Regions from separate parts of the Homo sapiens genome. Here regions 1, 3 and 4 are each linked to region 2. Evidence: promoter capture Hi-C in 16 types of primary human blood cells and fetal thymus (Javierre and others, 2016). All regions are on one chromosome and are shown on one strand. Each heading gives the region's core, a stretch centred on a gene start or on the middle of the fragment in contact. The rest is flanking DNA. Distances are from core to core; before and after follow the strand shown.

Region 1 (3,093 bases), core at 469-2,968, 4.9 Mb after region 2:
TCACCTGAGCAGTGTACACTGTACCCTATGTGTAGTCTTTTTTCGCTCACCCCTCCCACCTTTCCCCATGAATCCCCAAAGTCCATTATATCATTCTTATGCATTTGTGTCCTCATAGCTTAGCTCCCACTTCTAAGTGAGAACATACAGTATTTGGCTTTTTATTCCTGAGTTACTTCACTTAGAATAATGGTCTCCACCTCCATCCAGGTTGCTTCACATGCCATTATTTTGTTCCATTTTATGGCTGAGTAGTATTACATGGTACATAAATACCACATTTTCTTTATCCACTTGTTAGTTGAATTGTTTTTATAACGTTATGTACTGAAAACCTGTAATATTATCAGTGTTTCTTAAAGTGTCACTTAAAACTAGAGACATTTGAAGGCCAGGTGCCATGGCTCATGCCTGTGATCCTAGCATTTTTGGGAGGCCGAGGTGGGCAGATCACCTGAGGTCGGGAGTCCAAAACCAGCCTGGTCAACATGGTGAAACCCCATCTCTAGAAAAATTAAAATAAAAAAAAAAATTAGCCAGATGTGGTGGCACATGCCTGTAATCCCAGCTGCTCGGGAGGCAGAGGTTGCAGTGAGCCAAGATCACGCCATTGCACTCCAGCCTGGGCGACAGAGTGAGACTCTGTCTCAAAAACCACCACCACCACCAAAAAAAACTGTAGTATATCCATACCTGAGAAACATTTTGGCTGATCTCCATACGGACGGACAGACGGACGCACAGATGGATATAGGAAGACAGATAGATAAATAATATGTACAATAATGGTGATGGTAATTTTTTTAAAACCTAAAAAGTCTAACAAGGTAATTGAATATTTATTACAAAAAGAACAAACTAAAGAGATCAAGACTTATTCTGGAAAACAAAGCAAAATAGAAGATATAGTGAAATTTTTGGAATCATGAAGGAAATGGATCAGATAATATTGATCATCAGATTTTAGAATACTACAAGACGCGGCTGGGGGAAGAGAAGAAAGCTAGAACACATTAAAAGATGTTCTGCTTTCATATATGAAATCATAAGAATTTGTAAATTTTTTTAAGTTGATGAATTCAGATGTTATATCTGAGGAAAGGAAGAAAATTATTTCTCTTTTCTTTTCACAGTGCTGTGACCTTTTCTGGAATCCACCTGTTGAGATGCTTTATAGCCAGTGTAACAGGAAGTCTTGACTAATGGTTCCCGGTTTAGCTGAAGATTCAAAAAAAAAAAAAAAAGCTTTATGCTAACTGGAGTTAAATACCTAGAAGAATTTCAACATTGTTTTAAATGTTGTGCATCTGTAACTTCAGGAGGATCACTTGAGCTTTAAAACCTGTGCCTTCTCGAAACAAGAATTTGTGCCTGAGGTGAAAAAAGTTTGTAAGTTATTGAATTATGGTGTTCATTAGAACAGCTACTAGCTGATTCCCCTATTTTAACAAACTGACAAGAGCACATCCATAAAATGAAAACCTGTTACAACTATGTACAGAAGGGTTTGACGTTTTATTGGGCTTTTGTCTTTTAAAGAATATGTCTACTATGGGTATTTTTTTTTTAAATGTTAAAATGGGCTAGGTAAAAGGGGGCTGCTTTTCTGTTAAGCATCGATAGGTAAGTTGATGGATAAAAGTTACTATGTAAGCCTATTTTTTTGAGTCCTTATTTGAATATTGAAAACATTCTTGATAAAATGTGTTAGTCCATGTTGGAAACAACCGAAAGAACAGAATTCAAGTTCTAGTTCTGATGTTTATTATATATGTTGGATCTTGGGCAACTTACTTGATTTCTCGGAAATTCATTTGTTACTGTAAACGTGAAAGCTATTAAGATTCAAATGAATGGTTTTACAGCAGGTAACATGTGAGAAGACAGCTACATATTTGTAAAGCCAAACCAACAAAGAAATATAGCAAAATTCACAGGTAGATTTATTACAAGAAATGTCCTTTCATGGGGGAAGTAACATTTTCACTAGTGAAAAAGCAAAAAACAAAAATAGCTTTAAGTGAGAAAACTAATTTGTAAAGGGCAAGAGAAAAAAGCTGATGGGACAGTTTAGACTGCTACATTTAAGATTCAGAATGGAAAAATAAAGCCTTTGAACTAAAGTTAATAGAGAAGATTTTTGTGAAGGTGCCACTAACCTATTCATGTAAGTGGCTTAGGTTTTCAAAGTGAAGCTTAATATTAAAAGGTTATAGCTGTATTGCTGGATAACAAATTAAAGCTATAAACCAACTTCGTGGCTTTTCTTTAGAAAACAATCTGAATATATTGTCAGTTTTATAGTTGACAGAATTGGTCTAATCTAAGCAGGAATGTTTTCAGCCAAAAAAAAGATTTTTTAATATAGACATTCATAAAATATATAGTAACAAAAGAATTATCTTAGAAGTCATCTTTTTGTCTGCCAGTGTTACTTCACTGCTTTGATTTATCCTTGGTTCTCCTATAAGCAGAGCCTGAGCCAAAAGCTTACATATGTAAATTTGGGAAGTGATCCCAGGGAACAGTGGCAAAATGAAACAAGACAGACAAGCCTATTAACAACATATTCATTGAGTTAGCCAAAACATAGGCACTAGTGCTAGATCTTGAGGGAACTTGTGACAAGTCCTAGGAAATATGTGTTGTATAGTGACCAGGTCTATGCAACCTACCCCCAAAGGCTGAGAGTGCTGAGATGCCAAAGAAAGAGGCCAACAAATCCAGTTTGTCAGAAAGAAACATTTAATAGGGACTTATGCACAGAAGCCATGTCTCAGGCAGTGATCCCCACAGTTACCCCCCGACCCAGGGCTTATATGCCATAGAGAAAAGGGGGTACATGAAGGAACATGTGAGACACTGAAGTCACCTCCTCAGGGAAAGGCAAGAATGCTGTTTACAACTTAGCCTATAACTTGCTTAAGGCCAGGATTTACAGTGTGTGTGTGTGTGTGTGTTCTTTTAATAGATAAAAGTAGAAATCTTAGAGGGCATTCCAGGAACTGGTTATCAGAAGTCAACATGGTAGATTAGCATCCAAGATGGAAGTTACTTTAGCCTCATACTGTGCCTGTGAATTTCTTTGAGGAG
Region 2 (3,531 bases), core at 916-3,415:
AATGAGTATCTGAGATAACTTCTTTTACCACAAAGGCCACTAACACTGTAGAGGGTGCCAGGAAAGGTCCCTGATTCCCGGGGCTTAATTAACGAAACTGAAAGCAAAATCAAACTTCAATACAAATGAATGTACAGATCCATCACTTTCTTACTCATTCTAGATTCTAAAGTCAGTCTCTCAAACCCTTGGTTTATAACTACCTATGTGCTGAGACATCTTTCTTCATACATGTCCTTTTGAAGCTATATATTAAACACATACAAAAACATATTTTATAACAAATACTATCCTGTTTTACAGTCCACACTTAACACAACTCAACTGCATAATGCCTGTATTTTGCTTTTTTTTTAGGTTAATATTAACTAAGTAAAATAAAATACTATAAATTCTGAATTCGATGACTCTAGGGATTCGAACACATTAAAATTGTGTGTAAACGAGTGCTAATTACATGATATTAACTATTACTAAAGAAGGCCTAACATAAATCCTATCACTCAAAGTACCATTCCAACAGTTCTAAACTACGTGATTTAAATCTAACCTACCTGTTTTAAAAATAGTATATGGTTTATACTTTTTACTTTTTAGGCAGTTTGAATAAATGATACTGTATCACTTCATATCTGGTTCAATATGAAGGCGTTCTGAAATTATTATGCGATTATACAACACATCTCTGAAAGCAGTATTATTTTAGCTATAATGATAGTAAAGGCAACAAGCATACTAAACGTGATGACAGGAAACACTAACATCAACCATTTAGATAACGGAGACCTGGATTCACAGTCCCAACATCCAGGATGCTCGGGGAGGGAGGAAAGTGGTAAGCAGAGACTTAAGGGCATCTTGGAAATACCTAAAGTCACAAGCCTTTAGGAACGGCACACCGAGGCTAATAATCAGTTTAAAATCGAATTAATTTAGCATTCTAGAATAAATGTAACAATTGCTGTCACTGGTGCTCAAGCTGAATTCTGAATCTTATAAAAGTTCACAAAAGGCTCTATGGATGTGAAGTGTGACAGGCACTCACTGTAGAGCTACGAATGTTTCTATTCCTTGCTCAGTTTTTACAGACGAAGCACACGTTTTACAAAAGCGAAATGGATTCCAAAAGCTCGGGGTGGGGGTGGGGGGGTGGAGGTTCTTTGGCGTCGAAAAACACCAAATCCCATTCTGCTGCACATGTTTTGACTGGAGGTTACTGTCTTCCTATTTCAGGCGAAAACCAGATTACTTTTAAAACGGTTCCCCCAAATAAAGTGGGAAAAACTTCAACGTACAATTTAGAATGTATGCAAGTGGCTGATGGGGCGTGAGGGTCACGAGAAAGGAAGAGTTTCCAGCAAGCTTATTTTTAGGATTAAAAACGACAGCAAAAATTACACGGCCGGAAGATTCTTCTGATTGAATGCTGAGTTGAAAATGAAACTTAATTGTGTCCTTTACGTCCTCTTCGCTCCTATGTTCATGTGGGAGGCAAACGGCAGAAACCCCTTCTCACCGACTTCGCCAAAATGCGCACTTCCATCGCAAGAGGCCCGGGCCCTCCCACTCTCCCTCCCTCAACCCCAAATGCGTCTAAGCACTGAGAAGGGAGAGGGGTGCGAAAGAAGGGGATCCCTAGCAGCTGCAGCCCCTTGCCTCTGATCGCGCCCTTTCTTGCTAGTTAATTTTTGCGCGAGGTGCGCGGTTTGGAGTCTTCCTGTGTGTGTGCATTTGGAGATGGAGAACCGGGTGGAGGAGATGAGCCCCGCTCTCACCCAGGGGGAAGAAGACGACCAGGGAAAGGAAGGGAGGAAGAAGGGGGGCGCCCGATTCCCCGTGGGGCCCTCCCACGTCTGCACTTCGGGCGCTCAGGGCCCGAGTGTTCTGCGCCCCGGCCACCCTCTTCAGGGCGCCGCCGGGCTGGCTGGGGCGCAGCCCACACGCCCGCGGGGGCGAAGCGACAGCAGCCGCAGGGCTGGGAGCGAGGAGCCACTCACCGCAGCACGCCGAGCCCAGCAACAGCGCCGCTACCAGGGGCCACATCTCCGCGCCCGCCGCGGGGTCGCCGCCGCCGCCGCAGGTGTCCGGAGCAGCAGCCGCCGCCGCCGTTACAGGCAGGACCGACCGCCGCCGCGCGTCACAGGCAGGACCCACTGCCCAGGCTGCACGGCCGCGCGCACGCGCGCTCCCACTGCTTCCCGCCCGCTCCCCCGCCTGCTCCCCGCCCGCGAGAGCCGCGCACGCGCACTCGGCCCCGCCCCGCAACCGCTGCTGTTGACGCGGCGCCCTCCCCAGTCGCAGGCTCCAGACCCGGGGCCCGCCTGCCCGCTCCACGGAGGCCGGATGCCTGCTCCAGGGCGGTGGCACGCGCCGCGCTTCCAGGTCACGTCCTGTCGCACCCGCCCGCCCCTGGGGTCCGCGTGCTCGCCCGCCGCAGGAGGCTGAACCCTGTGTTCCCACGCTCGCCGGGGACCTCATTGCACCCGTTCCTGTCCGCGGGTCGGTTCCTGCCTTTCGCGCGGCGCTGGGCCCCACTGTCCTCTCTCTCTACTTTTCTCCTCTTTGCTTTCACTCCCACCCTCGCGCTTCAGGGGCCGGGTCCCGTCCCGCCCCAGCCCGCGTCTCTCCCTGGACCCGACGTCCGGCTGCGCGCGTGGACCAGGACACCTAGGCTTTCACCAGCGCCCGTTTCCTCCGGACGCGGCCGTCTAGCGCCGAAGCGGTCCCTGAGCCCGAGGCCGCCACGCCCAGGGCAGGGCGGTGGTCGGGTACCTGCCCGCAGGGAGCTTCCACTCGCCCCTCGCGGGCTCTGCGTTCGGCTCGTCTACTCGCTCTGCTCTTCCCTATGCGGTTCTCTTCCCTCTTTCTCACTTGGTTCTTTAGTGTTTTCATCCTCTGATCAGGGTTAATCAAACAAGTTCCATTCACGGTGGTAAACATTGTTACCTGTGAACACCGCCACCACCGGGACTAGCGAGCATTGTCGCAAACAGGCATTAGCAGCGTATCCAACACATCCCCACCAGCAAGGTTATTGAGCTTGGTTTGTGACTGCCCCATGTGCAGCCCTCTGCGCTGCGCTTGGGTTTAACATGCTTGAAAAATGGGTTCGAAATGTGGCCGCAAGCCACAATAGGGACAAGGCTTTTGAATTTATCGCTGAATCACACAGGCCACATCATTCATCCTGAAGCAAAAGTCTTTTAAAGATACTTTTAACCGTTATCCTAACTGATGTACTCTCTTATCAAAAAGTCAGGCTCTGGTGGCTGCTCTAATGGAGTGCACATCCTGTCCACCTCCTTGATTGTTTTCCTCCTACCTCCTGGGAAAGAAAGCAATTTCCCACCACAATACCCCACTTCTCCAAATCCTCTACACAGTGCGGCTCCTCCCAAGCATCCCATTGCCACAGAAATAAAATCCAGCGTATGAAAGTGGCACTGTCTATGACACTCTGTACCAGTGTATTGTATACTATCGAGCTTCTTCCTGTAATTGCTTTTTTGTGTGAACCTCTTCCCCACAGCA
Region 3 (3,327 bases), core at 442-2,941, 4.4 Mb after region 2:
TAATTGGAATTATTTAGAAGGAAGATAATGATGGTGCGAGATGCTTATAGAAGCAATTGGAGGAAACACATCACAGAGTGGAATGTTGTGGAGAGACAAGAGTAGGAAGCCAAAGAAAATTCTCTGGGATTTTCCATGAGGATCAAGAGCATTAATTAACAAACTGATAAGGAAGGGAGTGATAGGAAGGATAGGTGAGTAGGAAACTAAGAGAGTAGAAATGTTCAAAAAGAAACTGACAAGGCCCTTCATGTCTCCTATTTAGCTCTTAGACTTTCTCTTTCACCACTTCATACTTCACATACTTTGTTCCATAAAACCCCCCAAGGCACAGGATTTAGGAGGGAATGTTATTCCCTTTCCCCTAAAGTTGGGTTCTTTCCTCCACAAAATAGATAGATTGTTGATCCTAATCTCAGCCCCAACTTGATCCCTAGAACAGGCACCTTTATGCACTTTACAAACTACAGATTATCTTTAGTCATCATGAATGACCCAAATATGGGATAGAGCAGAAATTGCAATGCTACTTTTGTGTAACAGACTTTTGTATCACAATTAATTATTAACTTCTGACCTTTCATCTGACCTTGGCTAAATTCATGTCTCGTATAGAAGTAGATTAGTTCCCATAAAGAAAGACTGAATTACACAAGGCTTCTCTTCCAAGGAAGGTGGACTCAATGCCTCAAAATTTAATTTTATTATACATTATGTTAATATATTATATAAATTAGTTAATAGCACTTATTTATTCAATAGTATATATCATTCTAGAATTAATATTTTGCAGATTTTCCTTATTTTTGTAATTTATTTTACCTGTTTAAAAAATAGTATTTGTTAAAAATTCAATATTTTGTCTCATTAATGTGAATTAATAATGCAATTCTTTCCAGAAAGTGTTCATTCCATACATCCTTAATATAGCCTTCTCCAGGTTGATGAAGACAATTTTTGTGCTTTGCATATACTATGTTCTTTAATTCATTTACAAAGAAATATTTAGTGAGCCCCTACCATGTGCCAGGTACCCTGCCATCCATCATACAGAGCAAAGATGTTTAAGACACAGCTTCCATCCTGAAGAGGTTTATAAGCCAGTGCATGGATGGTCACAAGTAACTAGCACCGAGCTTCACGCTATATTTGCAAAAGCAGAGTCCCTAACTCTGCCATCGATTTCTTCTATATTTCATAATTGAGGGTTGTAGCTACTGCTAAACTGCTATGCATTTTTTCATGGTGCTGCTGTAAGAAATTTTAAACTAACCTAAAGCATTTTAAAAGAATTTCAATGGATTCCTTCACTGGGCTACTTTAAGGGAGTTGAAAGACACTCAAAAGTAAGCATATAAAGTAACAAATTAATTTTAAAAAGATCAGTTGTAAAATGTATGCATTCAAGTGAATGATGTCCATAAAGGAACTAAACTGTACGAGGTTGCATCCAGAGTTCAGCCATGCTGCTATTGCAATAACCCTCTTTTGAAATTTCTCCTTCCCAGTAACTTTAAGGGTCAATTTATGAGCAACAAAAGAAACTCCACATTATTTCTTATAATTAAAGGGCACTCTTCTTTGATCCAAATATATTTTTATTGTGGTAAAATACATATAACATAAAAGTTACCAATTTAATCATTTAAAATGTACAATTAAATGGCATGTAAGATACTCACAATGTTTTGCAAACGTGACTACGATCTAGATTCAGAACATATTTATCACCCCAAAAGGAAGCCCTCTACCTATTTAGTAGTCATGTCACATTCTTTATTTCCTCAGCCCCTGGCAACCACCAAGCTACTTTCTGTCTCTATGGATTTGCCTATTTTGGATATTTCATATAATCAGAATCACATTGTATGTAACCTTTTTCTTCTTTTACTTAGCGTAATGCTTCTGAGGTTCATCAATGTTGTAGCATACATTAGTACTTCATTCCTTTTCATGACTGAATAATATTCCGTGTGTGGATAAACTACATTTCCTTTATCCATTCATCAGCTGAACATTTAGGTTGTTTCTACCTTTTGGCTATTGTGAATAGTGCTGTGATAAACATTCAGGAACAAGGTTTTGTGTGAACATATATTTTAATTTCATTTGAGTATTTACCTAGGAATAGAATTACTGGGTACTGTGACAAGTAGGTTTTATCTTTTGATTTTGAGGAACTGTTAGACCACTTTCTAAAGTGACTGCACCATTTTACATTCTCCTCAGCAATGGATAGGGTTTCTATTTCTTCACATCCTTGCTAACACTTATTATTTTCTGTGTTTTTTTTTTTTATTCTAGTCATTCGATGGGTGTGAAGTGGGTTTTCACTGTGACTTTGATTTGCATTTCTCCAGTAACTAATGACATTGAGCATTTTTTTCATATGTTTATTGGCCATTTGTATATTTTCTTTGATGAAATGTCTATTCAAGTCCTTTGCTCATTTTAAAATTAGGTTGCCAGTCTATTTGTTGTTGAATTTTAGTATCTTTTGATGCACAGAAGTGTTTAATTTTTATGAAGTCCAATTTATCTATTTTTGGTGTTATTGTTGATTATGCTTTTGTAATCATAGCTAAGAAAACACTGCTAAATCCAAGATCAGAAACATTTATCCCTATGTTTTCTCCTAAGAAATCAGAGTTTTATTGTTTTATATAATGCAGTTTTTATAGTTTTAGCTCTTCTACTTAAATGTCTGACTTATTTTGATTGCTTAAAATATGGAGTGAGATGAGGGTTCAAATTAATTCTTTTACATATGAATATCCAATTATCCTGGCACCATTTATTGAGACTATTCTTTCCCCACTGAATAATCTTGGTACCCTTATCAAAAATCAATTGACTACGGATGTATGGAGTTTATTCTGGACTCTCAATTCTATTTACATTGATCTCTTTGTCTATCCATGACAATACTATTCTTTTTTTTTTTTTTTAACTGTCATTTTGTAGTAAGTTTTGAAATAGGGAAGTCTTAGCTTCAGTTTTGTTCTTTTTCAAGATTGTTTTGGCAATTCTGGGTCTGTTGCAACTCAATGTGAATTTTAGGATCAGCTTTTTTATTTCTGCAATAGCAACAAAAAGCTGTTAGGATTTTAGTGGAACTGCATTGAATCTGTAGATCACCTTGGGGAATATTGCTATCTTTACAATATTACATCTTTCAGTCCATGAATACAGAATGTCTTTGCATTTATTTACATATTCTTGAATTTCTTTCAGCCATGCTTTCTTTGTTCAGTGTACAACTCTTATACCTCTTTGGTTAAATTTGTACTTAAATATTTTATTCATTTTGATGCTATTGTAAATGGA
Region 4 (3,489 bases), core at 468-2,967, 3.5 Mb after region 2:
AAATTCTCTGAGCCCATTTGGAAAATGATTATAATAATGCCTGCCCTAAATTACCTGGTCCTAAAGTAAATGATTTTCATTTCTGCTAATGGAAAACAATGAAAGTGAAAGCCAACAGATGCAAAATGCACTGGCAGTGGACTGGTTCTAACTCAGGGCAAAGTGGCCTGGTAATATAAGAAAAAAAAATAACTCGTGAAGGTCATATTAAAGGGGGCATAGAGCTGTCCAGAACAAGCAACAGGTATGGATTTATAGCCTCCTCTCCATGTCTTATAACTTACTTGCTTTAAAAATATGCTGTTGGAACAGTCCACCTATAGGCCAAGGTCCCATCAACTACTATCTTATAATGCCCAATTCCCTTGCTGTTTTCCAGGAGGAAAACACACCACACACACACACACACAGACACATACACACACACACACACACACACACACACTTCAGTTCAATTAAGGATGGAGTGGAGTGGGATTGAAGTAAAGAGAAATGGAAGACCTATATAGAAAACTGTTTAGCTATACATAGTTTGATTCAGGTAGCCTGTATTTGGATATTGGCTCTATCATTTACCATACGTTTCATCATTCCCAAGTTGTTTCAAGTTTCTTACATAACAAATATGGATAATTATAGTGCTTTCTTTACAGGTATCACTAGCTTGGTGATTAAATGAGATAATCTGTGTAATGCACTTAAACATATAGTTCCTGCTAAAGGATAAGAGTTTGGTAAATGGTAGTTTTCAATTAAGAATAGTAATAATTATATTGAGCAAATTCTATTTCTCAGTTCCAATTAAATATGAGCCCTGCTCCTTCTTTTTATATATTGACCTCATTTGGAACCCAGTAAGACATTTGCCATGTAATGTTAGTACAAGTACACATTGACCTTGGTTTCATACATAGTTTTTTTTGTACATTCTGCCTGAACCAGTAAACAATACTATTGCCTCACGGAGGACTCAGTGTTTCCTTCATTGAGACTTGGCAACATGGACTGATGTACCTTATAGGAAATAGAATAAGTGATGCCACAAAATGAAGACAGCAATGGAGAACAGATAGTATATTATCCAGAAAGGAGGATGATGTTGCCTTTAAAGAAATGTATTTCTTAAAATAAAGAGAACCAAGGGAGTTAAGCTTGTAGCTACTAAAAACTGCAGGTCACTGGAGAGGCAGAAACCGTATCTATACTTTTTGCGGTTGGAAAATTTCCGGTCTTCTGAATGTAACTTTGCTGCTGTCATCTGGATCAGATGAAAAGCAATGGCCTCAGTGTTAGAGAAATGGTTCTGGTATTGTGATTTTGGGTACAAAGGGAGTAAAATAGAAAAGAGCAAAACAGAAGGGGGAAACATCCTTCACCACAGAGTGACCACAAATGTAAGCCTGGTACGGAGCTACAGAGTAGGCAGCTGACTAAAGGGAGGCAGTTGCCATCTGAGAGCTCTGTCAAGTTCACAACCAATAGCATATTTTCTTTCTACCCTTTACTGTTTTGATCTTCTCTTGCTTCTTCTCCTCTCACTTGTACAGTTTTCTTCTTATGCCCCTGTGCAATCTTTAAGTTTACAAGCTAGTTGGGTAAGCAAAACACACCTGAAGTGCAAACACTTATATAGTACATAAACAAATGCAAATTGAAGTGGTGCATAAGAACCTAATTTGAAAATGCTGAGGGACTTGAAGTGTTTGAGTTGATCATCTCTTCCTGTTTCTTTTCTGTTGCTGTTTGAGTCATTCTCTCTTGTCTGCTCACAACACAGTGTGTGTCTAAATCCTGTTCCCATGTTCCCCAAGGGCCTAGCTGTGAAAGGATTCTGTTCTCTTTTCACAATATTTTGTCTCTGTGTGTGTCTTAGTGCTCTGAGATTGTGGACAAGAGTGGAAATATAATAAACAGTGTGAGGTTTGCCTCTTTTTCGCTTTCACTTGACAGAGTTTCCTCCTAGGTTAGGAGATTTTCAGTCACTCCAAGAAATGCAGTTCTCTGAGTTAAGCCTTGGATTGTCATAATCTAGATTTCATTCATTTGAATGCTACTGGATCCCATAATGCTTCAGATTGTAAGATTTTGGTGCATTTTAAAATTTGTAGTTATTAAGATCAGTTATAAGAGTATAACATGGCTTTAATTTACTAGTTCACAGTAAATGCCTTGGTGGGCTGTTAATGTTATTGGAAGCAGTAGTAGCAGTGAATGCGGTTGGAGAAGTCATGGTCCTGGAAGTAGTAGTAATAGTAGCAATAAAATTTTGATACTACAATGTTGATAAGCTTGGTCTAAAACATGTTGTTATCCTGTCTAGTTTGTATTGAGCCTGAATGCTGGCTCTTCTTAAATTCCTGTATTTAGTCTTTATCCAACAAGTGTTTTTGAGTGCTTACAGTGCTAGACACTGGGCACTAGGCACAGAGTAGGCATATATGCATGACTGTGTCTTCATGAATCACAAAGTTCAATAGGAAGAAGTTGACATTCATCAAATAAGCAAACAAATATCAAATTGCAACAGTGAGAAGTGCTTCAGAAGTGAGGAAGTAGTGTATGAGAGGGTATAATAGGAAAATCAGAAAAGACTTTCTTTACTTTGTCCTTTCCTTTCCCTTCCCCCTTATTTTCATTTCCCTCTCTTCTCCCCTCCCCTCTCTTCCCCTCCCCTCCCCTCTCCTTTCCTTTCCTTTGGAAGCGCTGCTTCAACTGGAGTTAACCAAGTGAACACAGAGCTTTACAAAGAACAGGACATGCAAAGGTTCTATGGGGGAAGGAAGTTATAACAACTGGGTAGGCAGGGGAGATTTTAAAAGGTATTATGGCTGGAGCAGAGGGATTACAGGTGAGGCAGTTGACGATAAGGTTAGAAAGATTGATTAGTCCATTTAAGGAGTTTTGTCTTTATCCTAAGAGCTGTGGGAACTAATTAAAAGGTGGTTGTTTTGTTTGATTTTTTTTGTTTTGCATTTCAAAAATGCATCTTTGTGGTTCAAGTGTAGAGAATGAATTGGAGAAGGCAGAGACGATAGTGTGGATCAGTTAGAAGACAACAGCAGAAAGCTACATGAGAGATGCTGGTACCATTAAGTACAGTGGCAATGAACTAGAAATAGAAGAATGTTTAGATTAGAAACTTGTGTAGGAGATTCTCCCCACAGGATCAGTGGTGGATTGCCTACGTGAAGGAAGGAATAAAAAGCAGCGTCAAGGATGATGCTTTAATTTCTAATATGTGACACAGAAAAAATAGGGGAACATTGTATTAGGGAACACTGGAAGATGATCAGATCATACAGAAATTATTTTGCATTTAATCTTATAGATGTTGAGTTAGGCATGAAGTTGTGACATACAGAAGACGTTAGGTAAACTGGATATACAATTTCAGATCTAGGAGAGAGGTTTAAGCTGAAGATACAGAGTCATCTGAGTGTGAGTGTTAACTAAAATTCTGGGAGTGAAAGAAATCCTCTAGGAAGAGAA

The links. The method cuts DNA at HindIII sites, captures the fragments that hold promoters and counts their contacts. A CHiCAGO score of 5 or more calls a contact.
Region 1: a contact is called between a fragment that was not itself captured here and the fragment with the promoter of CD47 in region 2, in 1 of 17 cell types (activated CD4 T cells). The highest score is 8.3, in activated CD4 T cells.
Region 3: a fragment that was not itself captured here is called in contact with the fragment with the promoter of CD47 in region 2 in 2 of 17 cell types (total B cells and activated CD4 T cells); the score reaches 7.9 in total B cells.
Region 4: a fragment that was not itself captured here is called in contact with the fragment with the promoter of CD47 in region 2 in 4 of 17 cell types (fetal thymus, naive CD4 T cells, non-activated CD4 T cells and 1 more); the score reaches 9.8 in fetal thymus.

Annotation. Positions count from the first base shown.
Region 1 is chr3:112,999,717-113,002,809 of GRCh38, forward strand. GTPBP8 (GTP binding protein 8) reads left to right here. Exons shown (of 6, transcript NM_014170.4): 6 at 1,134-2,253. The coding sequence ends at 1,203. RMP64 (ribonuclease MRP subunit p64) reads right to left here. Exons shown (of 9, transcript NM_015412.4): 9 at 2,728-3,093. Among named protein-coding and RNA genes, the nearest start is that of GTPBP8, 10 kb to the left of the region's middle. The HindIII fragment of the contact is 950 bases long and covers 1,244-2,193 here.
Region 2 is chr3:108,088,866-108,092,396 of GRCh38, forward strand. It overlaps CD47 (CD47 molecule), which reads right to left and starts at 2,166. Exons shown (of 11, transcript NM_001777.4): 1 at 1,998-2,166. The coding sequence starts at 2,043. RefSeq lists silencers at 1,890-2,639, 2,660-2,709, 2,720-2,779. The HindIII fragment of the contact is 8,318 bases long and covers 1,361-3,531 here.
Region 3 is chr3:112,475,073-112,478,399 of GRCh38, forward strand. The region is part of intron 2 of BTLA (B and T lymphocyte associated); the gene reads right to left. Among named protein-coding and RNA genes, the nearest start is that of BTLA, 23 kb to the right of the region's middle. The HindIII fragment of the contact is 4,154 bases long and covers 1-3,327 here.
Region 4 is chr3:111,546,503-111,549,991 of GRCh38, forward strand. The region is part of intron 2 of CD96 (CD96 molecule); the gene reads left to right. Among named protein-coding and RNA genes, the nearest start is that of CD96, 6.0 kb to the left of the region's middle. The HindIII fragment of the contact is 1,137 bases long and covers 1,150-2,286 here.